Linked DNA regions of Homo sapiens: all the other regions are linked to region 1. The links are contacts of gene promoters, found by promoter capture Hi-C in blood cells and fetal thymus (Javierre and others, 2016). All regions are on one chromosome and are shown on one strand. Each heading gives the region's core, a stretch centred on a gene start or on the middle of the fragment in contact. The rest is flanking DNA. Distances are from core to core; before and after follow the strand shown.

Region 1 (3,768 bases), core at 742-3,241:
TGATTTCTGGCTAATGTTAGTAATTTTAATAGAGATGGGGTTTCACCATGTTGGCCAGGCTGGTCTCAAACTCCTGACCTCAAGTGATCTCCTGGCCTTGGCGGCTCAAAGTGCTAGGATTACAGGCGTGAACCACCGTGCTCGGCCTTAATTTCTTTATGGCCAGCTGTTACATAGAAAGGCAAAGAGAAAGGTTAGAGCAATATTTTTAGGCTTTATGGCTGGCTTTGGGACAAAGGGGTTCTACTTTCTAGACCCCCTCTTGGGGAGGAGGGATTCTAGTTTCTGTGGCATGCCTGGAGGGAGAGTAAGGGGCAAGAGACAAGAGGGCAGAAGGTCAGAGAGAAACTGCTTCATAGGCCTTCACTTTGTGGTATTGTTTTCTAAGCCCCAGCACTAGGTTGGTGGGAAACGGTGAGGGCAGGTGCTTTGAAAACATTTTAAAAATCCTTTTCCCCGCCAGGTTCCTACCCACTGAAGCCACACTGCTAGGGAGGAAAAAGAGAAGGGCAGATGCTGAGGCCCTGGAGAGTCGGCCTGAAGTGAGGAAGTGGCACATGAATGGCCACCTTTTCTTTCCTCAGTGTGCCCAGGGATAGAGAATGGGAGACAGCAAGACAGAATACAATGTCTCATTAACTCTGGGCAGCATCCAGATACTTCAGGCCTGGGAGAGGTGTCCTTGACTGCCCAGGGGCTCAAAGTTAGGATGTAGCTAGTGAGATAAGATGCAACAACTGTGGAACTTGATCAACCCTATTTCAGAGCCATCGTGGATTCAGGAGCCCTCCTGTAGGAGATGGGAAACATTCAGGTGAGAGTCCTCAGAACTGGGGATGTGGCGAAAAGATCCTTGACTGCCAGCAGCAACCTAATTTCTGAGCCTCTTTCCTAATCTGTGAAATGAAGTAGTTTAACTCATTTTTTATGCAAGCTGGTTTGTGATATAAGAATATGTACTAATAAAATCCCTTACGCATAGGCCTTTTTTTTTTTTGAGATGGAGTTTTGATCTTGTTGCCCAGGCTGGAGTGCAATGGTGCGATCTCAACTCACTGCAACCTCTGCCTCCTGGGTTCCAGCAATTCTCCTGCCTCAGCCTCCCAAATAGCTGGGATTACAGGCATGCGCCACCACACCTGGCTAATTTTGCATTTTTAGTAGAGACAGGGGTTTCTCCATGTTGGTCAGGCTGGTCTCGAACTCCCGACCTCAGGTGATCCGCCCGCCTTGGGCTCCCAAAGTGCTAGGATTACAGGCGTGAGCAACCGCGTCCAGCGGCATTCTTTCCCCCATTCGCTGTTTTATTTTATGCCACAATGAGAAGGCGGGGCTAAGCAAAGTAGGTTTTTGTTTTGTTTGGTTTTTTTGAGACGGAGTTTCGCTCTTGTTGCCCAGGCTGGAGTGCAATGGCACCATCTCGGCTCACCGCAACCTCCTCCTCCTGGGTTCAAGCGATTCTCCTGCCTCAGCCTCCCGAGTAGCTGGGATTGCGGGCATGCGTTGCGCCACCACGCCTGGCTAATTTTGTATTTTTAGTAGAGACGGGGGTTCCTCCATGTTGCCCAGGCTGGTCTTGAACTCCCGACCGCAGGTGATCCGCCCGCCTCGGCCTCCCAAAAGTGCTGGGATTACAGGCATGAGCCACAGCGCCCGGGCGCAAAGTACGTATTTTTTATTATAGTTTGTTGTTATTGCTGTCATTCCTATTTTGAGGTGATTAAGTGCCCTCCTGGGCCTGACTCGAACAAGATCACGGTCGGTTGCTCCTCCCTCGCCTCCATTCCTACTTACAGGATGGCAGCTGCACGTCACCTGACCAGAGACAAGGCGGGACGCGAGGCTAACAGTTTGTCCTCAGCGCGCCGCCGTAGCCCCCGCCGCCGCCGGCCGCGCGGTGGCTCCTCCCGCCCACGCGCCAGAGTCGCAGTGGGCGGGCCTACGTGCTCCGCCCGCTGTGAGCCTGTCCGGCCCCCGCCCGCTCCGGAGCAACCCGCGAGCTTACACCGGCTTCTCTCTGTCCTCAGCCCGCGCGCCGCCATCGCCGTCATGCTGGGCGCCGCTCTCCGCCGCTGCGCTGTGGCCGCAACCACCCGGGCCGACCCTCGAGGCCTCCTGCACTCCGCCCGGACCCCCGGCCCCGCCGTGGGTAAGGCCCCTGCTTGCCACTGCCCGCGCCCTCGTGTCCTTGCGGTGACCTGGGTCCCCGCTGCCACTCCGGGGCGGGCTCTCCCCGGCCTAGCCCTTGCCCTACCCTGGTTACTGAACCCGGTGACCGCGGGCCGCCCTGCCCGCCGCCTCGAGTAGTGGAGGACCTGAAAGCGCGCCCCCGGGGCCTCCCCCCGCGCAACTTCCTGGCTGTGCCACCGCGGACAGGTCAGATGTGGACCTGCTGTGGGCGCCGAGGAGGGGACGCAGCGCTCCCCTTCGGTTCCCGGGCCATGACCCTGCCCCAGCGCCGACCCTGCGGCCACCTGACCGAGAGTGGCCGCCGCCGGCCTGCAGCGCCTCGGCGAAGGTGACATTGAGCCTCCGGGCACGCCGCTTGGGGTCCGAGGACACAATATACTTCCGTATGGGACACACGATTATACTTTTCAATCAGGCATTTCTCGGTTAGCGATTAGTGTGTCACCTTCACAGCCTTTTCCATCATTTTTAGGGTCTGCTGTGCCACGTTCTAATTCTTCCACGTTTAAAATAGATGGAAGTGTGTGGTTGTTTCCTGATCTCCGGAAGATAGCCAGAGTTTTGATAGGGCTTATGATAAAAATATCACTCTTTTGAAAACTGAATGTCACAGACACAGGAATACTGGGTTTTACAAGCATAGGAACGCTTCGTGTTTTTTCCCCTTTGTAATAGAAGCCTGATTGCTGGAGTATGAGACGTGCTTCTGATTTTTGTCTATTTTCCTTCCCTTTATATGTGTGCTGGGAGGTTTTGAGTCCACCACCATAGAATAATTACAGTAATTGCACTTCGATCTTGGTCCGTGAAATTTAGCTTCTATGCATGCATATTATATTTTATTTTTGAACCTGCATCACTGGCAACTATGCATGCGTATTTAAACATAAGAACTCAGAAACTCGTTTCAGGGTATGCTGAAGTTAAAAATTAAAAAAAGAACTCAGCCGGGCGCGGTGGCTCATGCCTGTAATCCCAGCACTTTGGTAGGCCGAGGCGGGCGGATCACCTGAGGTCAGGAGTTCAAGACCAGCCTGGCCAACATGGTGAAACCCTGTCTGTACTAAAAATACAAAAAATTTAGCTGGGTGTGGTGGTGGGCGCCTGTAATCCCAGCTACTCGGGAGGCTGAAGCACAAGAATCGCTTGAACCTGAGAGGCGGAGGTTGCAGTGAGCCGAAATCGCGCCATTGCACTCCAGCCTGGCCGACAGAGCGAGACTCCGTCTCAAAAAAAAAAAAAAAAAAAAAAGAATATGTTTTGCTTCATTCATTTTAGACTTTTATCATTTGTCGTAGAACCATAAGGCTGGAGGGTACTTTATTTTTGTTTATTTATTTATTTTTAAATTAGAGACGGAGTGTCCCTATGTTGCCCAGGCTGGGCTTGAACTCCTGGGCTCAGGTGATCCTCCCACCTCAGCCTCCCAAAGTTTGGGATTATAGGCATGAGCCACTGCAGCCAACCTAGAGTGTACTTTAGAGATCGTGGAAGCCATTTTATTTTATAGAAAAGGAAACCAAAGTCCATCTTGGGAAACTGACTCCTTGTTTTTTTTTGTTTGTTTGTTTGTTTTTG
Region 2 (3,768 bases), core at 742-3,241, 470 kb after region 1:
GAAACCTCATCTCTACTAACAAATATAAAAATTAGCCGGGCACTGTGGCAGGCACCTATAATCCCACCTACTTGGGAGGCTGAGGCAGGAGAATTGCTTGAACCCGGGAGGTGGAGGTTGTGGTGAGCAGAGATCACGCAACTGCACTTCAGCCTGGGCGACAGAGCGAAATTCTGTCTCAAAAAATAAAAAATAAAAAATAAATACAAAATGAAGACTAAAGCAAAAGGAACACAGAAGAAATAAATACAACAGATGATGCCTTAAGTAGAATGTAGAAAGGAGGAACATTTAAAAAATATTTTTAAAAATGAAGAAAGAGAAAAGATTTGAGAAAAGTGGCAGATATTGAAGAGAAACAACAAAGATACAACATATGGCTAACATGAGTCCTCTTAAGAACCAAACCAAGGCAAGAGAACGGAACTATTCTAAAACCTGTAATTCAAAAATCAATCTTTACTGAAATAAAAAAAATATAAATTACATTTTGGAAGAGAATACCACATAACTGAGACTACTGACCTAAAACAAACAGCACCAAGATGTAGTCAGGTAAAATGACTGGAAATTAAACAAAAAATTTTAAAAACTACTTGGGCAACCTGGTGAAAAGAGCAAGTAACTTGTAAGGGAAAGAAAATTAGATTTCTGTCATCAGATGAAAATGAAATATCTTAAGAAAGAAAATGTGAGCCAACAATTTTATATTTAGCAAACTGATTTTCAAGCATAAAGGCCAGAAATAAACTGCTATTAATATGCAAAAGTTTAGGGAATATCATTCACAGAGAATATTGTAGTCCTTCCAGGAAATCCACTAAAGAACGGGTTCAGTAATAAAAACCACTGGGCCAGGCACAGTGGCTCATGCTTGTAATCCCAACATTTTGGGAGGCCAAGGCGGGTGAATCACTTGAGGCCAGGAGTTTGAGACCAGCCTAGCCAACACGGTGAAACTCTGTCTCTATTAAAAATACAAAAATTAGCCGGGCATTGTGCTACATACCTGTAATCCCAGCTGCTTGGGAGGCTGAGGCAGGAGAATCGCTTGAACCTGGGGTGGAGATGCAGTGAGCCAAGATTGCACCAATGTACTTCAGCCTGGGTGATACAGTGAGACTCTGTGTCAGAAAACAAAACAAAACAACAACAACAACAGCAACAAAAACCAGTGGAAAGCATTAAACATGGAATTCTGATTTTATTTATTTATTTATTTTTGAGATGGAGTTTCACTCTTGTCGCCCAGGCTGGAGTGCAATGGTGTGATCTCGGCTCACTGCAACCTCCACTTCCTGGGTTCAAGCAATTCTCCTGCCTCAAGCTCCCAAGTAGCTGAGATTACAGTGCCCGCCAGCACACCCCCACTAATTTTTGTATTTTTAGTAGAGAAGGGTTTCACTATGTTGGCCAGGCTGGTCTCAAACTCCTGACCTCAGGTGATCTGCCTGTCTCAGCCTCCCAAAGTGCTGGGATTACAGGTGTGCGCTGCCGCACCTGGCCTAAACATGGAATTCTTTGTAGTATTAAGAGAGTTAAAAAGAGGAAGGTAGAGTAATGAGTATAGGCTCAGATAATATACAGCACATCTGTTAAAATGGAGAGAATGAATGGAGGGGATAGAATGAGAAGGGCATATGCAAACATTTTTTTAAACGTCTCAATAATTATATTGGTGGTGATAGTATCATTAGTATTGTTATTTTGAGACAGTTGGGTATGTGATATGGGATAAAGGAAATGAAAATAGATATTTAAATACTGTTGTCCCTTATGTTCTTGAGAACTAGTATTCTCAGTGTGGAAGAAAGGAAATAAAGATGTAATATAGAAAATATTAAATTAAAATTCTGCAGTCTTACTTTGGGAGGCTGAGGTGGGCAGATTGCTTGAGTCCAGTAATTCAAGACCGGCCTGGGCAACATGGTGAAACCCTGCCTCCACAGAAAATACACAAATTAGCTGGGCATGGTGGTGCACAACTGTAGTCCCAGCTACTTGGCAGGCTGAGGTGGGAGAATCGCTTGAGCCTGGGAGTTTGAGGCAGCAGTGAGTCATGATTGCACCTCTGTACTCCAGCCTGGGCAACAGAGGGAGATCCTGTCTCAAAAAAAACAAAACAAAAAGCAACCCATAAAACCAAAAGCCAAAACCAAACCCAACCTCTGTAGTCTTGAATTTGAAGTAGCAGTATAAATATTCTCTATTTATATCTCTATGGATATAGATCTCCCCCTAGCTCCATCCACTAATGTGGCTTACAAGTAACAAACAATTCAGTAGCAATAAGCATCCCTAGTGCCCAGATTGTGGTCTTAATATACCATTTCCCACAGAAAACCATATGAATTTCTTGAAGAAATGGCTAATTTTTATGCCTAGGGCAGGAAGTACAAGATTAGCTAGGAACTCTTGTCATGCTAGATAGCAGGGAGCTATCAAAAACCTCCAGGGTTATGTCAAAAGGACTCAAGAATCAAGTTGAAGAGGAGGCTCCATTGTTATGGTACTGTATTAGTCTGTTCTTGCACTGCTATAAAGAACTACCTGAGACCAGGTGATTTATAAAGAAAAGTGCTTTAATTGACGCACAGTTCTGCAGGCTATACAGGAAGCATGGCTGGGGAAGCCACAGGAAACATACAATCATGGCAGAACGTGAAGGGGAAGCAAGCACATCTTCACATGGCAGAGCAGGAGAGAGAGGGCAAAGGGGGAAGTGCTACACACTTTTGAACAACCAGATCTCTTGAGAACTCACTGTCATGAGAACAGCAAGGGGGAAGTCTGCCCCATGATCCAAACATCATGACCTCCCACCAGGCCCCTCCTCCAACATTGAGGATTACAATTCAACATGAGATTTGGGTGGGGACACAGAGCCAAACCATATCAGGTACCATGAATGTCAACATGAGAAAATACAAGTATATTGTGGAAAATGAGAATCAAGTTTCCTACTATTGCAGAAGGGAGGTAAAATTATAGAGAAGAGGAAGACTAGAGGAAAATATGTGGTATTGGATTGGAATTTGAGGTATTGGTGTGAACTCATATTTTATATATACATATATATTTTGATATATGTGCACATATATATGCTCACATATACATAGATCTATATATACATATACACATCTATATGCACACATATTTAAATATATTTCATAGAAATATAGATGAATGGGTGTGTATATCAATATTCATTTATTTGCTAGGTCTAGTCACTGAAATAGACTGGAAATAATGACATCTCAGTAGCAATAAACACACCTAGCATCCAAACTTGGCTTCTAAATACCATTCCTTACTAAAAGGAACTAAGGCTCTTTGGAGAAATGAATGATGTGACAGATGTGAAAATCTATGACATAACTTATGAAAATGGCAGAGAGATGATCAGCCTCCACCCAACTGGAATGGTTGATGAAAGCTGAATGAGATTGTAAGTTACATGGTATTATTGTATTTATTAATTTCTTGATTTTGCTGGGTTGTACTGTGGCTGTGACATAGAATATATCCTTGTTTTCAGGAAATACAGAAATACTTTGGGTAATGTCTGTAATTGGCTCTTAAACGGATCGGGTGGAAAAACAAAAGAACAATATGCATAGTGAGAGAGTGAGAGAGAAAGAATGATGAGGTAAATGTAAACTATTAACAACTGGGGACTTTGGGTTAAGGGTATGAGGGCATTATTTTGTAATATTTTTGCAACTGTACTGTAAACTTGAAATTATTTCAAAGTAAAAAGTCTCAAGA
Region 3 (3,768 bases), core at 864-3,363, 390 kb after region 1:
TCCAAAACCAATGCTGATTTAATAATTAAATCTGTTACTAGGTAACAAGTCTGCCAAGTATTTACACTTTAACCTTTTGGGGTTAATGTCTACAAGGGCAACCAAGCTCTCTCATATATCACCAAAGATATCAAAGATATCATGGAGTGCTGGGCTGAAAGAATCACTGATAGAGTCAAGTAAGAGATCTCAAGTTCTAGGCCCCAAACCTTTCCCAAGTGACAGTCTGTTCACCTAGATGACTAGAGGAAAGACATGAGCTCGGTACAGATATTGAAAGCAGAAGTCAAGAAAATTCAAGGCTGCCAAACTCCTCAGTTACTGAGACTGAAACACAAAGGAAAAGAGTCTCTGGTGCTGTCTGATGATAGCGAAGCTTATGTTCTTTCTGGTTGCACAATCTAGAGCACGGTTTCTCAACCTTGGCACTACTGTTATTTTGGACCAGATAACTCTTTGCTGTTGGGGGGCTGTCCAGTGCGTTATAGGATGTTTAGCAGCATCCCTGGTCTACCCACTAGACGCCCATAGCACACTGCCCCCTACTCCAGTCATGGCAATCAAAAATGTCTCCTGACACTGCCAAATGTCCCCTGGGAAGGGGCAGGGGTCACCTCTAATTGAGAACCACTCAACTAGATGGATTCCATTGTGACTGCAGAAGGCAAGGGCATGCAAGGTAGCTCTATAAAGAACATGAGGAAAGCCTACGAACATTTTCTTTTTTGGGCAATACTTTGCACAGTTTTTTAAAAAAGCCTCAAATGTTCCATAGTCATGCTGTATCTTTTCTTTTTCCCTTTTTTTTTTTTTTTACACCATCTCACTCTGTCATCCAAACTGGAGTGCAAGTGGCATGATATCGACTCACTGCAACCTTCGCCTCCCAGGTTCAAGTGATTTTCCTGCCTCAGCCTGCCGAAGTAGTTGGGACTACAGGCGTGTGCCACCACACCCAGCTAATGATAGTCATGCAGTATCTACCAAGAAAAGTAGGCCTATCCCGGCCGGGCGCAGTGGCTCACGCCTGTAATCCCAGCACTTTGGGAGGCCGAGGCGGACGGATCACGAGGTCAGGAGATCGAGACCATCCTGGCTAACACGGTGAAACCCCGTCTCTACTAAAAATACAAAAAAATTAGCCGGGCGTGGTGGCGGGCACCTGTAGTCCCAGCTACTCAGGAGGCTGAGGCAGGAGAATGGCGTGAACCCCGGGGGGTGGAGCCTGCAGTGAGCCGAGATCATGCCACTGCACTCTAGCCTGAGTGACAGCGAGACACCGTCTAAAAAAAAAGAAAAAAAAAGAAAGAAAAGTAGGCCTATCCCAAGGGACTACACCTTAATTAGAGGGATGGCTTCTGGACACCAGTCAGTCAGTCATGGCATTAGAAGAAATGGACAGTAGTCTCCACTAATTGCCCAGCAGGAAGTCGACTCTCACGGTAAGATGAGATTGATTTTGCTCATGGTTAAGAATAGGCAAAAAAAACCCCAAAAAAACAAAAACAAACACGAAACTCCCTCTTCTCAAATCACATTCCCTTTGTCTCTCCCAGTGCCCATCTAACATGGCAATTCTTCCCATTTGTCATGGAGCTTCCTTTGCTTCTGTACTGCAGAAGTGCTTCTCCAACAAATTCAGAGAGAACCCACGCTGTCATGAGCTGAGGGTGCCCCAAGCGGCTTGGAGGTGTTTGAAATTGGTAATACCCTGTCCTTGTTAACACATGTGATTAGCAAGCTTTAGGACGTTAGGAATTCTTTAATTGCAAATATTCTGAAATTAAACCCTTCCATCCTAGAAGGCAGTCACAAAACAAAATCTTGTAAAACATGCTAGAAGGGGAAGGGTAGAGGAGGGGGCCAACATTTATTGTGCAATGGCTCCCAGTGCTTTCAACTGAATTGGCTGTGAAAGTATGTTAAGCCCGTGGTTGGATCACAGCCACATGCAGTAACCAAAGCGACTGCCAAAGTATGCAGAAAATCGGACACATGCACCCTGGCCCCACATGCCTGCCAAGCCATCTTTCTTCTTTCTATTCTATCGAAGGGGGTCTACACCCTTCTAGTAACCTAGCTCTACCAATGGGCTCAAGACAGACCCAGCCTGTACTGCTTGAACCACCTTCTACCAGAGGGGGAGAACACCACCCCCAAAAGGCCAGCAACATCCCCTAGTTGGCTGTATGATCTCCTTTGAGAAAAGGAACACTCAGTTCTTTGTCTGTTTTCTTGTTTTACAATTATTTACTCTGCCCATAGGAATCTGATGGGTTTTAGAACACTTGGCTCAATGGCGTTATCCATCTTCCCATCACTGTGGTGTCAGAGAATAATACCACACCTTAACAATCCAGGCCTTGAGAAGCAAATATTTTCTAAGAGTTTCTTCAAAGAGAATCCACGAAATAATTTTGACTTTACATGTTCTAAGTAAGGGATTTCAGATGCAAAGAATAATCTCTGGAACCCTTAAGCTTTCCCAGTTTCACTTTTCAGTTAGCAGATGCCTGTCCTCCCTTACCCCAAAATCTTGCAAAATACTTCTGAGTATTCCTGTTGGTTTGCCAAGCTATGCTATGCTGTAGACAAAATTAACTTTTTAAACTTTGGCATGTGAATGTTTGAAACAAAACTCTGTTTTAAAATATCTCTGCCATAGCAGACTGGGTGGCTGGGCTCCAGTAGACTCAGGACAGAATCAAATTATTGTAACCCAAGTTCGAATCCCCCTTGAGGTTCCCACACTGCCACCGCTAGACCTGAACTCCCTGAGAGAGAAACATGCCTTGTTTCATACAGCACAGGTCTGGCACAAAGAAGCCTCTGTAAAAGTTTGTTGTTCAAAAGAACAAGATGGACACTGTATCACATTAACAATAAGATCTGTGTCAGGGTAGGCGCGGTGGCTCACGCCTGTAATCCCAGCACTTTGGGAGGCCAGGACGGGCGGATCACTTGAGGTCAGGAGTTTGAGACCAGCCTGGCCAACATGACGAAACCCTGTCTCTACTAAAAATACAAAAAAATAAATAAAAATAAAAAAATAAATTAGCCAGGCATGGTAGCATATGCCTGTAATCTCAGCTGCTAGGGAGGGTGAGGCACGAAAATCACTTGAACTCAGGAGGCGGAGGTTGCAGGAAGCCGAGATCGCGCCACTGCACTCCAGCCTGGGCAACAGAGTGCGCTCTGTGTCGGCGGGGGAGGGGGAAGGCGGGGGGGAAAGATCTGTGTCAATTGTAAAGGTCTTTGTAATTGTTGCTGGAGCAAGGGATATTCTATTTTTGCACTCCATTAAGTTTCATAAAGTAAAGATTTTGAACAACAAAACAAGCTAGTCTAATGATCTGTAATGGTTTCTATAGGCTCTCCCCAAGAATATTATTATTTTTGGCCCTTCTAAAATATACTAAAAAAAAAGTTTTAAAATCCCCAAGCATATGATTTACTCCTTTAAAATCAGGATTTATAGAAAAGGAGAGCACAGATCAAATCAATGTTAAAAATTAAAGGGGAAAAGGACGTGCACATCTGACGGTTTAAGTCATTGCTACCCAAAGCCCCCCAGTTCAGTTCTTGATCTCCAAATCCTGGGGGAAGGTAAATTTTGGGTGAGGGATTATACCTCAGCTACTGTGGTATTTATAAAACATTTTGGCAGGTGCTCTGCCAAGCAGTCTATAATTAGTGAATATGCCTCAGAAACATAAAGTGAACGCAAAGAGTTTCAAATGCCAACAGCCAGCCCCCTGAATACTGAGC
Region 4 (3,768 bases), core at 349-2,848, 310 kb after region 1:
CCTGAGAAGGCAGAGGAGGTGAGGGCTTTGTGCCCTGAGAAGCTCTGCACACTCAGGACGACAATGGTTCATCCTGAGAACTCCAGGAGGGCAGTGGTCTGCTGGGCTGACATGCACTTGGTCTCTAGCACTCAGCCCAGCCAGCTTGCAACTCCTAGGGCCTGTGCCCTGGCCCAGCTTTAAGAAGGCCAGCCTTTGGAGAGGCATTCGAGTGGTGTCTGGAAAACAAAGACACCCTTGGGGTGACCTGGGCCCTAGTCCCAGCCTGGGCTGCTCTCTGCTCATAGGGACTTTCAGATGGCACTCTTTCCACCTGCAGATCTGCCCACTAGCCCTGTGGACCTGGTCATCAACTGCCTGGATTGCCCTGAGAACGTCTTCCTGCGCGATCAACCCTGGTACAAGGCAGCTGTGGCCTGGGCCAACCAGAACCGGGCACCAGTACTCAGCATAGACCCTCCTGTGCATGAAGTCGAACAGGGCATTGATGCCAAATGGTCACTGGCACTGGGCCTGCCTCTGCCACTGGGGGAGCACGCAGGCCGTATCTATTTGTGCGACATTGGCATTCCCCAGCAGGTCTTCCAGGAGGTGGGCATCAACTACCACTCGCCCTTTGGCTGCAAGTTTGTTATCCCACTGCACTCTGCTTAGAGGGTTCCTGCGCAGGCAGGACTCTGCTGTCCCCTGCTGCTCCTGATAACAAACGCCTTAAGGATATGAAGCTTCATGGACCTTGTTAAAGTTTTTTCTCTTTTGGGTTTGTTTCTTCTGTGAGAGAACAGAACTTACTTAAAACTGACCTGTCACTTGCTCTTAGCCAGGGAAGTCTTTCCCACTGGGTTCCGGGCTGGGTGGCAGGCTGAGCGTGCAGCAACTCCAGGCATCTCTACCCTCAGCCCCCTGCACGGCCAGGTGGGCCTTTGTTTACAGCCGTAGGCAGCTCTCAAGACTGTGTTTCAGGTTTACAGCCACTGGGCCTGGGCACACACATTGAAGAGTGGGCCAGGTCCTGTCTGGGGGCCTGTACCTGCTCTATTTCAGAGCTTGTGGCTTTGTGTCTCCCCTGCTTTCCCCACGCAGACAGCCCTTCCTCTGTAGAACCAGCTGCACGGCAGCTGTCCACCAGAGGGCAGACCTGCACTCTCCATTCATGTCCAGGGCTGTGACAGACCAGGCCTTCCCCTAGCCCCACAAGTTGATTTGGGGGGTTTTGACCCTTACTCCTGAGCTGATCCAAGTTTTATGCTGATTTTTCCAAGGATCTCTCCCTCCTTTTCCCTCCATCACTCAGAGGTAGGGAAGGGGGCGGCATTAGGATGGTGTTACTGTATTGGGATTTTATGTTGTTCTGTCGTCTTCAGCACAGGTAGTATAAGGTTATATTACTGTAGAACCACAGTGCCCATCTTGCCAGCAGTGCCCGCCCCCACCCTCAAAGCTGAGCAGGTTGAGCCTTTGCCTAGTCTGGGGCCAGACCCCTCAGATGGGGATATCCCTGGGGGAGCCTGGTGCTGAACCAGAAGAGGCTTCCTGGTGCTTCTGTCCTAGGCCACCACTCCTCCAGCCCTTTGCCCGCACATACATGCCCCACCTACTCTTTCATCCCCTCTGCCCTTCCCCTGAAACGGTCCTTTGCAGCTGTCATCCCAGAGCAGGCAGATGGGCTCCCGTGCTTGAGCTCCACCCCAGCTCTTACATCATCTGGGCTTTGAACCTTTTACATTTGTCCAGTCTAGATGAGTAGGCTTGGGGCCAGCACCCTGTCTCAAAGATGGCAAAATGAGGCTAGTTCTGGATGAGCTAGCTGGTGTGGGTTCCAACCATAGGAACACACTGATGCTCAAATCCTAAGGTGCCAAGCTCTAGGCCCTGGAGGCTGGTAGAACAGGATCTATGCCTGGAATCCTGGCAGGGATTCCTGTCAAGGACTTGTGTTTAAGCCTGCTTCAGGGCTTCAGGCTGCTTCTGCTCTGTGTCTGCCCAGGCTGGCTGAGCGGGTGGATGGGTGGACAGAAGGGCTCACCAAGGATTGTGGACATAGGGTAGGCCCTGGTACCACGGGTTTCAGGCTGTTATCACTTCCCTTGTAGGAACATAGCCAGAAGCAGATGAGCCAGGGTAGAGGGCTGGCCCCTCCTCTCATCTTCCCTTCAGTCTTAAATTGTCTCCAGCGATGGGAAGAGGCCAGGGACTGTAACCCTTGTGCTGTGTATTCTCTGAGCCTCTGCTCACTCTCAGGGCCAAGCAGCTCCCAAGCCGGGGCCCTCTCTTGGCCAAAATCTGAGGAGCAGTCTAGGTTACAGGCTTTTTGGTAGGTAGGTTCTGGCTGCCTGTTAATGCAGTTAGGCCCCCTGATTAGGTACAGTGAGAAACAAGCTAGAACAACCCTGGCCCAGAAGACTGTCCACTCCAGCAAGATCCAGGGATGATAGCCTTGCAGGGCCACTGGGAGTTTGTGCCCAAGCTTCTCCCTCTTCTCTCCCCAGGGGGCACTGGGACTGGTCCCTGCCCTCATCCTTAGCCTGGGCCTTCCCCAGAGGTATTAAAGAGAAGTATGATTCCTCTGTCTTCAGTTCTTTTCAGGGGCATCCTGCCCATAGTACCCAGTTCCCAAGGGGCCCCCAGTCACGTGGTGAAGCCTAGCACTCATGCAGCTCTTAGGGAACCAAAAACCAGCACTGAAATAAAGCTGAATGACTGACTGAGTCCTGTGCCGTGTGACTTGCTCTGTAGGCTGTCATGAGGTGCTGTCTGTCCCAGCCTAGGAACCCGCCCCACTCGTCTCCTGCCCTCAGCAGGCCATAGTTGTTGGGCACATACAGCCTAAAGTCCTGGCCAGTAATGGGACTGGCAGGCTGTGGAAAACCAGACCCCACCTGGCTAGCCACGGTGGGCTGATTCCCTTAGGTTCTCTGGGGCTGAGAGGTACAGAAGCCAGCAGGGCAGAGGTGCCATCTAGGACTGCTCAGCAGCCTGGGCCCAGAGGATGTCCCCAATTCTGGTCTTACCCCTGCCTAGCTCTTCTGTGCCTGGCCCAGTTCACACTTAGCTCTCCACAAGCTGAACTGCTAAGAAAGACTTTATTAATAAGGTCAGGTAAGGGGAAGGCAAGGAGCCTGGAGATGGACACACTGGTACCAGGGGTTACAAACAGTAAGAAACACTTTATTATAACTTTATAACATATAAATAGCTTGGGTCAAATCTGTGCTTTCTGGCAGCTGGGCACCAAGTCTGCTCCCCTGCAGGCTCCTGCCTTCCTTCACATTGCACTGTTCATTGGGTGGCTCTGGCCTGGGGCCTGGCGGTCGAGGCTGGAGTCAAGGGGCTGGGCGGCCCAGTCCCGCCCTCCATCTCCTCATGCGGTGGCCTGTGCCTGTCATCTGCTTGGGTTGCGGCTGGTGTGGAAGGACCGCTCCTCAGGGGTCAGGCCAGCAAAGAAGGGGTGCAGCAGGGCCTCGGCCAGTGTGATGCGCTGGGCAGGGTCAAATTCTAACATCCTCCTCATCAGGTCAAACAGCTGCACGTGCTCCAGGGAGTCTTGGAGCATGTAACTCTGCTCAGGGACACAAGGTGCCTCAGTGTGACGGCAGGGTCGTGGGAAGCCACAGCAGGTCCCCTTGCCTCTGGGACGCCTTGCTGGACTGGATCGAGGAGGCAGTGATGCCTCCTTGGAGGACTCTACTTCCGCCCTCCTGGACAATGAGCAGCTCCTTTCCTTTCATGCCTGTTTAACGTTTTGCTCGGAACTTGCCAGGCTACTAG
Region 5 (3,768 bases), core at 703-3,202, 280 kb after region 1:
AGCAGTGTGAGAGAGGTAATTCATCACATCCGTGTCCCATCCCTTCCCCTCAAACCACATTACTAACTGGGCCTCTTGGAATATGGTTTGAAAACCATTGTTATTGAATGATCCTAAGAGCTAAAGGGGAAGTCATAATCATTTTAGTAAGTAGAGAAGGAATTGAGTATAATATTTTTATTTTGGTTTGAAGTTTGGAATATAAGGAATATAAATCTTGAATGCTGGTAGCTGCTATAAGGAGAACTGTGGACGCAGCTAATTGCATTTGGAGGAAAGCCAGACATGGCTTTTTTTTTATAGATAATAGTAGGACTCTGTTGTATTTGGTTTCGCTGAGTATAGTAGCTTGCATGTGCTTTCCATGTGAAAAAAAAAAATAGGCCAACTGTCAGGCTAAGAAAGACTGCTAAAAAAAAAACAAGCTGCTGAACTGTGTCAGTCTTTTGCTGGCAGATTCTGGTAGGCATGCCTGTTTATTAAGGTGGTTTCCTTAAGTGGCAGTGACAGTGACACTGTAACTTGCCGAAGTCCTTCGATTTTTAACACCTGTGTAAAGGCAAACAGCCTAGCTCAGAATCGGGTTTAATTTAAATTGCTAGGTTTTAAGCCTTTCAAAGGCAGTTATCATCTGTTAAGTCTGGTACTCCTCCAGATCAGCCAACTATCTACCTCTGACTGCTTCCTTTTTTACTGCCCTCTTTGTAAAAGAAGCTGCTCCTGCTGCTAGCTCTCTATATCTGTAGTCCAAGTGCTGCTGCTGAGGCTGTTGGTTTATGCAGCGTGTGATTTCCCTGGAACTATTTACACTGCAGGATTTTTTTTTTTTTTTTTTGAGACGAAGTCTCACTCTGTTGCCCAAGCTGGAGTGCAATGGCGCAATCTCTGCTCACTGCCAACCTCCACCTCCTGGGTTCAAGCGATTCTCCTGCCTCAGCCTCCTGAGTAGCTGGGACTACAGGTACACACCACCATGCCTGGCTAATTTTTTTGTATTTTTAGTAGAGATGGGGTTTCACTATGTTGGCCAGGCTGGTCTTGAACTCCTGACCTCGTGATCCACCTGCTTTGGCCTCCCAAAGCGCTGGGATTACAGGTGTGAGCCACCGCGCCCAGCCCTACACTGCAGGATTTTTTTAACTTGGGAAGATTATGATCTGCCCTGGAGTCAAGTGGCTAAGAGTGAGAATAACAGTGAGAATCAGGGAGAATTCTCAGAACTAACAGAGCATGAGAAAATATTTACTAACATGGACAAAAGCAGAGGTAGAAATTTTTTTCTGCTACACACTCTGGCTCCCCAACTTGATCTTCACACTTCTTTTGTTTTTAATGACTGAAGTGAAAAGTTCTGTCATATAAAATTATTTTCCTATCAATAAACATACCACAAACCACATGTGCTGGTCCTTAGCCAGAAACTTGGGTGTGGCGTCTTGTGGTATGTAGTGACCAGTTGCACTCCACTGGTTCATGACAATGAGGGGGAAAGAAGCCCAGCAGCTTCATGCCATCTGGTTTTTCTCTTTGTTCTTAACAGTGACAAGGAGTGGAAAGGAAGCCCTTTTGCCAAGCAGCGTCTGTGCTGGAAATAGAGCAAGCAGGCAGTTATCTTACTGAGCAACTTCTTCTACAGGGGGGTTTTCTCTGTGTTCGAGTTCCAAGGCACAATCCTCAAGCAGGTTTTCACTGAGGGGCAGTCAGTGCAGAGCTGGGGACACTTTCTCCATTGGATCTGCTATCCAAATGTTTGGATCAAAAAAGGCAAACTAGAATATATAGGGAAACAGTCTAAAAGCATAAAATGTTAGTGTTAGGTTAGTTGATCACCTAGTATGATTTTTTCATTTTACAGATGAGGACATGAGGCCCAGAGAGGTAAAGGTTTTTTTTTTTTTTTTGGAGACAGAGTCTTGTTTTGTCATCCAGGCTGCAGTGCAGTGGCGTGATCTCAGCTCTCAGCGCACCGCAACCTCTACCTCCCAGGTTCAAGCGATTCTCCTGCCTCAGCCTCCTGAGTAGCTGGGATTACAGGCACCTGCCACCATGCCTGGCTAATTTTTGTATGTTTAGTAGAGACGAGGTTTCACCGTGTTGGCCAGGCTGGTCTCAAACTCCTGGCCTCAAGTGATCTGCCTGCCTTGGCCTCCCAAAGTGCTGGGATTACAGGCGTCAGCCACCACGCCCAGCTGGTAAAGGGTTTTCCATTGGCCAGGTGCAGTGACTCATGCCTGTAATCCCAGCACTTCGGGAGGCCAAGGTGGGAGGATTGCTTGAACTCAGGAGTTCAAGACCAGCCTGGGCAACAAAGTGAGACCCTGTCTCTACAAACAATAGAAAACATTAGCTGGGCACGGTGGCATGTGCCTGTAGTCCCAGCTACTCAGGAGGCTGAAGTAGGAGCGTCTGAGCCCATGAGGTTGCGGCTGCAATGAGCCAAAGTCATGCCACTGTACTCCAGCCTGGGTGACAGAGTCAGACCCTGTCTCAAAAAAAAAACACAAAAACCTTACCCATCACATCTCCTTTTCTCTTCTAAATGTGAATAAAAATGAGGAAAAGGCCAGGCGCAGTGGCTCATGCCTGTAATCCCAGCACTTTGGGGGGCTGAGGCGTGTGGATCACGAGGTCAGGAGATGGAGACCATCCTGGCTAACACGGTGAAACCCCGTCTCTACTAAAAATACAAAAAAATGAGCCGGGCATGGTGGTGGGCGCCTGTAGTCCCAGCTACTTGGGAGGCTGAGGCGGGAGAATGGCGTGAACCTGGGAGGCGGAGCTTGCAGTGAGCGGAGATCGCAGCACTGCACTCCAGCCTGGGTGACAGAGCGAGACTCTGTCTCAAAAAAAAAAAAAAGGAAAAATATAAGAAGAGAAGGGCAGTTTAATGGCAAATAGACTACAGATGATCCTCCAACTTACAATGGTTAGACTTATCATTTTTTGATTCTAGGATGATGTGAAAGCAATAGTCAGTAGAAACTGTAGTTGAAATTATTAATTTAGATCTTTTCCTGAGCTAGCGATATGCAGGTATGATATTCTCTAATGCTGGGCAGCAGCAGGAGTCAAAGCAGTCAGCCGTGCAGTCATGAGAGTAAACAACCAGTATTCTACAGTGTACTGTTTTGCCAGATGATTTTGCCCAACTGTAGGCTAGTGTAAGTGTTCTGAGCAGGTTTAAGGTAGGCTAGGCTGAACTATGATGTTTGTTTGGTAGGTTAGGTGTATTAAATGCATTTTCAACTTAGATATTTTCAATTTATGATGGGTTTATTGGGATAACACTCATTGTAAGTTGAGGGACATCTCTGTAGTCTTTTCTTTAGTACTGCAGTCTCTCAGGAATGGACCAGCAGTTTACAGAAGTAACTTGGAGAGCTCCCGCAGTCTGGCCTTGTGGCATTCATGTCCTAGAATACCAAGTACTTTTGTACTAATCCCCATGGTAGCAAAAGAACAACATATTTATTACCCATTTGGTGATGGCTTGGGATTTAGGATTCTGACAGCTTGCTGCTGGTGCCCTATATATTGACTTCATGCTAAGTGGTGTCAACCAACAGTACATAAGCTATTATTCACTAATTGCTCATACTCCTCTTGGCAGTACTCTTTGCCAGCTGTGTGTGTTGTGATGGGGAACAGTGTTGTTTTAGGTCTATTGATTGGGAAAACACATTCAGGAAGCAACTAAATTTAGCTCTTTGTTTAACCCCAATTTTTTCTCTCTGGAAATTCCTTTCAGGTTCTTTGGCAGGGCTTCTG
Region 6 (3,768 bases), core at 611-3,110, 270 kb before region 1:
GTGGCCCCAGGGGCTGGGCCAGCTGGGTCCAAGGACTTGAGGGCCCCTCAGACATTGCTTGCTTGGAGTTCCTAGGGTAAGGACCTGTGTACCTGGAGGCCAGGAAGCCCGTGCTGTGGATGGTCTGATATTTCTCCAGGAAGGGCTGGCATGGGGAGAAGCTCCCTGAGGAGTCTTTACTGGACCCCTCAGCTGGCACCCCCCGCAAGAAGGTGCCATCCAGAGTCTGGCCCTTGCTAGGAGCTGGGGCCAGAGAGCAGGGTGGGTCAGCTGAGGGCAACAGGGGCCCAGTCGCCAGAGTCCAGTCAACATCCAGTGGCCTCTTCACTGCTCCTTCCCCCAGACAAGTTGAGAGCCCATAGCACAGAGGGTTGCGGTAGACAGGTTTGGGTGCTGCCAGTGGTGGGCCTGGGTAGGAGTGAGCCTGGGGACTGAAGGGCAGGAGCTCAACAGGGCTGGAGTCCTGCATCTTCTCAGGGCCTTCTGCTGGCGAGCGGTAGAACAGGCAGTTGGTCAGCAGGTTGTCTGCCTGAAGTGGGGGTCCTGCCATACCGGTAGAGTACAAGGGTGGGTATGGGGTCCAGGACGCCAACTGCTCAGACTCGGCCTTAGGAGTACCTGCCATGGGGCAGGAGAAGTAGGACCCCTTGTAGGTGCAGGGATCCTGGTTACCAACAGAGTGGGGCAGGCTGTGCTCGAGCCCGGAGTCTGTCTCTAAGCGGGGCAGCTTGCCATACATCACAGGCCCCAGGGTTCTCAGGGGTCGCTTCTCTGCCATCGCTGTGAAGGCTTCGAGCCCTCCTAGGCCCCTGCTACTCAACTTCTGACCTGGGATAGAGAGAGAAAGGCAGGGGCTGTCAGGAAAACAGGCTACAGGCAAAGCAACAGAGGGCTGCTGCTCTCATCAGCTCACGGCTACACCTAAGAACCTGGCGCTTAAATGATGCTCAGTTAAGACTGTGAGTGCATGAGCCACGTGACAGAGGTTTCCAACTCGTGTATGTATTTTTTGAGGCAGGGTCTCACTCTGTTGCCCGGGCTGGAGTGCAATGACATGAACTTGGCTCACCGCAGTCTCAACCTCCTGGGCTCAAGTGATTCTCCCAACTCCCAGGTTGCTGGGACCACAGGTGCCTGCTACCACACCCGGCTCATTTTAGTATTTTATGTAGAAACAGGGTCTTACTATGTTACCCAGGCTGGTCTTGAACTCCTGGACTCATGTGATCCTCCCATCTTGGCCTCCCAAAATGCTGAAATCACAGGCATGAACCACCTACTGCTCCTGACCCCAACTCGTATATTTTAAGCTGCAGAACCCTTTGTTTAATGAATTATTCTACACAGAACCCCCACCCATCCCCACTCCAGGAGCCCCTTCTGTTCGATTTTCCTCCATACAACTCCCAAGATCCCCTCCTTCTTGGGATTTCAGAATTTGTAGGGGCACTGGGTCTCAGGGTCACTTGACATACCCTGCCGCCACCCCCTCATATACAGATGAGGAGACCCATTCATCCCAAAGTCACCAATGAAATAGACACAACGAGAAGCAGGCCTCCTGCCTCCCACCACAGGGTCCTATTCCAAGATGCCACAGTGATGCCCACTGCAGCCAAAACATGGAATCTGAGTATTGTCTACAAATTCACAGATTTCTTGTGACACTCCTCTGACCTGCTGATCTTGTCAAAAATGGCAGAGTCGGGCCTCCAGCCCAGGTCCCTAGGCCCAAAGCCAATGCTGAGATACTGGACTTGGCTCTGGAGAGCAGTCCCCTAGGAGAGGTAACTGGGGACATCAGTCTGTACAAGCCACACCCCTCTCGCCCCACTCCTCCCCCTCCGCAGGAGTCAGGGCAGCCCAGCAGATGGTGCTGCAGCACCAGCAGGAAGGTCCCAGAGCATGAGGAGCCTGGATCCACCCCCAGCCCCCAAGCTGCAGATGGCGATTCCTAGGCACATGGCAGGGTGGGGCCAAGACAGCGTCAGGGGCGTGTGTGAAAGTCCAGGGAGGTGGCTAGGTGCTGTGGCTCACACCTGTAATCCCAGCACTTTGGGAAGCCGAGGTGTGCGGATCATTTGAGGTCAGGAGTTCAAGACCAACCTGACCAACATGGTGAAACGCTGTCTCTACTAAAAATACAAAAAAATTAGCCAGGCATGGTTGTGCATGCCTGTAATCCCAGCTACGCTGAAGGCTGAGGCAGGAGAATTGCGTGAACTCAGGAGGCAGAGGTTGCAGTGAGCCAAGATTGTGCTACTGCACTTCCAGCCTGGGCAGCAGAGTGAGACTCCACCTCAAAAAAACACAAAAAACAAAAAACAAAACAAAAAAAAAGAAAAGAAAAGAAAAGAAAAAAGTCCAGGGAGGGAGGCCCCAGGGGCCAGAGTGCTACTTAGCCACTACTCCCATTGTATTGATGGAAAAACTATGTGCTGAAAAAAGACAAAGCTCTAAGACAAGACCAAGGAAGGATGGGGACTGAGGCCCCTCAGGGCAGCAGGCACCCAGTAACCCGTTAGGGGCTCATCTGAAGCCTGTCTTCTGGGGCCACACTGACCTACCTCTACCTCCCCCAGCCAGCACCCTATTCCTGGAAACTCTCAGTAGCTTAGAAAGGACCACCTAGCTCAATCTTGCTATGATTAGGGCAAAGTGTCACAGGTTTCAGTGACTGGCAAGCAAGGACCAGCCCTCTCCTTGCCTCTTCTGGTTGGAGCCAATGACAGCCACAGGCTGAGTTAGACCGGCACATTTTGGGGTTAGAAAACACAAGGCTAGTGTGGGGGCCAATGCCCACTTCCACCAAGGCAGACCCAGAAAGCAAGCTGGTTCATCTCCTGGACAGAACCCCACACCTCAGGCCAGCCTAGAGAAGACACAGAGGGGCCATTAGGACACAGGTGACAGTCCCAACAGCAGTGTCCTATGATAGAAACCTGCTATCGAGGGGTGAAAGCCCCCATCTCACTCCACAGCAATGCTGTGAGAAGGAACTGTAGGGTTTTGAAGTGTGGATCCTCCCCACCTCCACCCTTGGGACACTCTGGGTTAAGTACTGACTTTGGTCTCACCTCCCCCACATGCTTCTTGGGGTCTGCTGGGTCCCCACCCCCACCCCAGGAGTCCCTCTCTCCTGGGTCTCAGCCCATGGAATACCCTTTGCTCTGGAGACTTCTTGAGGCCCCTATCTGGGACCCAGTCAATAGACAGGAAACCACCTGGGACCCTCAGGAGTCTTTGTGGGAGGGGTGGCGGCTTCAGGGAGCCAACAGAGAACTCTTAGGGGTGTGGGAATGACCTGATCTCCTGCCAGTAGGAGGTGGAAAGCCCAGGATACACTCTCTCAAGGGAGACGACTCCTCCACTCAAGACAGTTGCCAAAATGTAGGTGCCTCCTTCCCTGACCCATACTGAGGCAAGCAAGCTCTCGGAAAGGGCAGGTGCCCAGGGAGCAGGCTCAGATCATCCTTGAGAGGCAGCTCTGTTGATCCTCTCTGCCAAGCTCCAACGTCACTCAGCCAGCACCCAGGCCAGGGTCCCGGAGAAGAGCCCACCACCGCAGCACCGCCCCTGCCTTACGCAGTGGGAAAGGAAACAGCTCTCTGTTCCCACTTTCACCTTCTAGGGGCCTCGGGATGGCCGATGGCAAAGACCAGGAAGAAGAGCGCGATTCCTGCCCAATTGTGGCCAGCATCTGGATTCTCCCGGAGGGCTGGATCGGGCCTCGCCGAGTGTTCTCCCATCTCCCACCTTCCCTACCTG

Evidence for each region. Contacts are between HindIII fragments. The CHiCAGO score rates a contact against its expected background, and 5 or more counts as called.
Region 2: a contact is called between a fragment that was not itself captured here and the fragment with the promoter of COX5A in region 1, in 1 of 17 cell types (neutrophils). The highest score is 5.8, in neutrophils.
Region 3: a fragment that was not itself captured here is called in contact with the fragment with the promoter of COX5A in region 1 in 1 of 17 cell types (non-activated CD4 T cells); the score reaches 6.6 in non-activated CD4 T cells.
Region 4: a fragment that was not itself captured here is called in contact with the fragment with the promoter of COX5A in region 1 in 9 of 17 cell types (total B cells, total CD4 T cells, naive B cells and 6 more); the score reaches 9.6 in total B cells.
Region 5: a contact is called between a fragment that was not itself captured here and the fragment with the promoter of COX5A in region 1, in 3 of 17 cell types (non-activated CD4 T cells, naive CD8 T cells and M1 macrophages). The highest score is 5.7, in non-activated CD4 T cells.
Region 6: a fragment that was not itself captured here is called in contact with the fragment with the promoter of COX5A in region 1 in 3 of 17 cell types (M0 macrophages, total B cells and naive CD4 T cells); the score reaches 5.8 in M0 macrophages.

What each region holds. Positions count from the first base shown.
Region 1 is chr15:74,936,296-74,940,063 of GRCh38, reverse strand. COX5A (cytochrome c oxidase subunit 5A) reads left to right here and starts at 1,991. Exons shown (of 5, transcript NM_004255.4): 1 at 1,991-2,149. The coding sequence starts at 2,050. RefSeq lists a silencer at 1,738-2,297. The HindIII fragment of the contact is 6,406 bases long and covers 1-3,768 here.
Region 2 is chr15:74,463,372-74,467,139 of GRCh38, reverse strand. UBL7-DT (UBL7 divergent transcript) reads right to left here. Exons shown (of 4, transcript NR_120377.1): 2 at 1,010-1,104. Among named protein-coding and RNA genes, the nearest start is that of UBL7-DT, 4.0 kb to the right of the region's middle. The HindIII fragment of the contact is 6,794 bases long and covers 1-3,768 here.
Region 3 is chr15:74,546,612-74,550,379 of GRCh38, reverse strand. The region is part of intron 2 of ARID3B (AT-rich interaction domain 3B); the gene reads right to left. Among named protein-coding and RNA genes, the nearest start is that of ARID3B, 7.3 kb to the right of the region's middle. The HindIII fragment of the contact is 739 bases long and covers 1,744-2,482 here.
Region 4 is chr15:74,629,498-74,633,265 of GRCh38, reverse strand. It overlaps EDC3 (enhancer of mRNA decapping 3), which reads left to right. Exons shown (of 7, transcript NM_025083.5): 7 at 320-2,708. The coding sequence ends at 654. CLK3 (CDC like kinase 3) reads right to left here. Exons shown (of 13, transcript NM_001130028.2): 13 at 3,065-3,559. The coding sequence ends at 3,383. Among named protein-coding and RNA genes, the nearest start is that of CLK3, 16 kb to the right of the region's middle. RefSeq lists enhancers at 966-1,115, 1,176-1,235, 3,441-3,768. The HindIII fragment of the contact is 1,742 bases long and covers 728-2,469 here.
Region 5 is chr15:74,651,321-74,655,088 of GRCh38, reverse strand. All of the region lies in intron 4 of EDC3 (enhancer of mRNA decapping 3), which reads left to right. Among named protein-coding and RNA genes, the nearest start is that of CLK3, 37 kb to the right of the region's middle. The HindIII fragment of the contact is 9,021 bases long and covers 1-3,768 here.
Region 6 is chr15:75,203,059-75,206,826 of GRCh38, reverse strand. It overlaps C15orf39 (chromosome 15 open reading frame 39), which reads right to left. Exons shown (of 3, transcript NM_015492.5): 2 at 1-828. The coding sequence starts at 778. Among named protein-coding and RNA genes, the nearest start is that of C15orf39, 3.1 kb to the right of the region's middle. The HindIII fragment of the contact is 6,893 bases long and covers 1-3,768 here.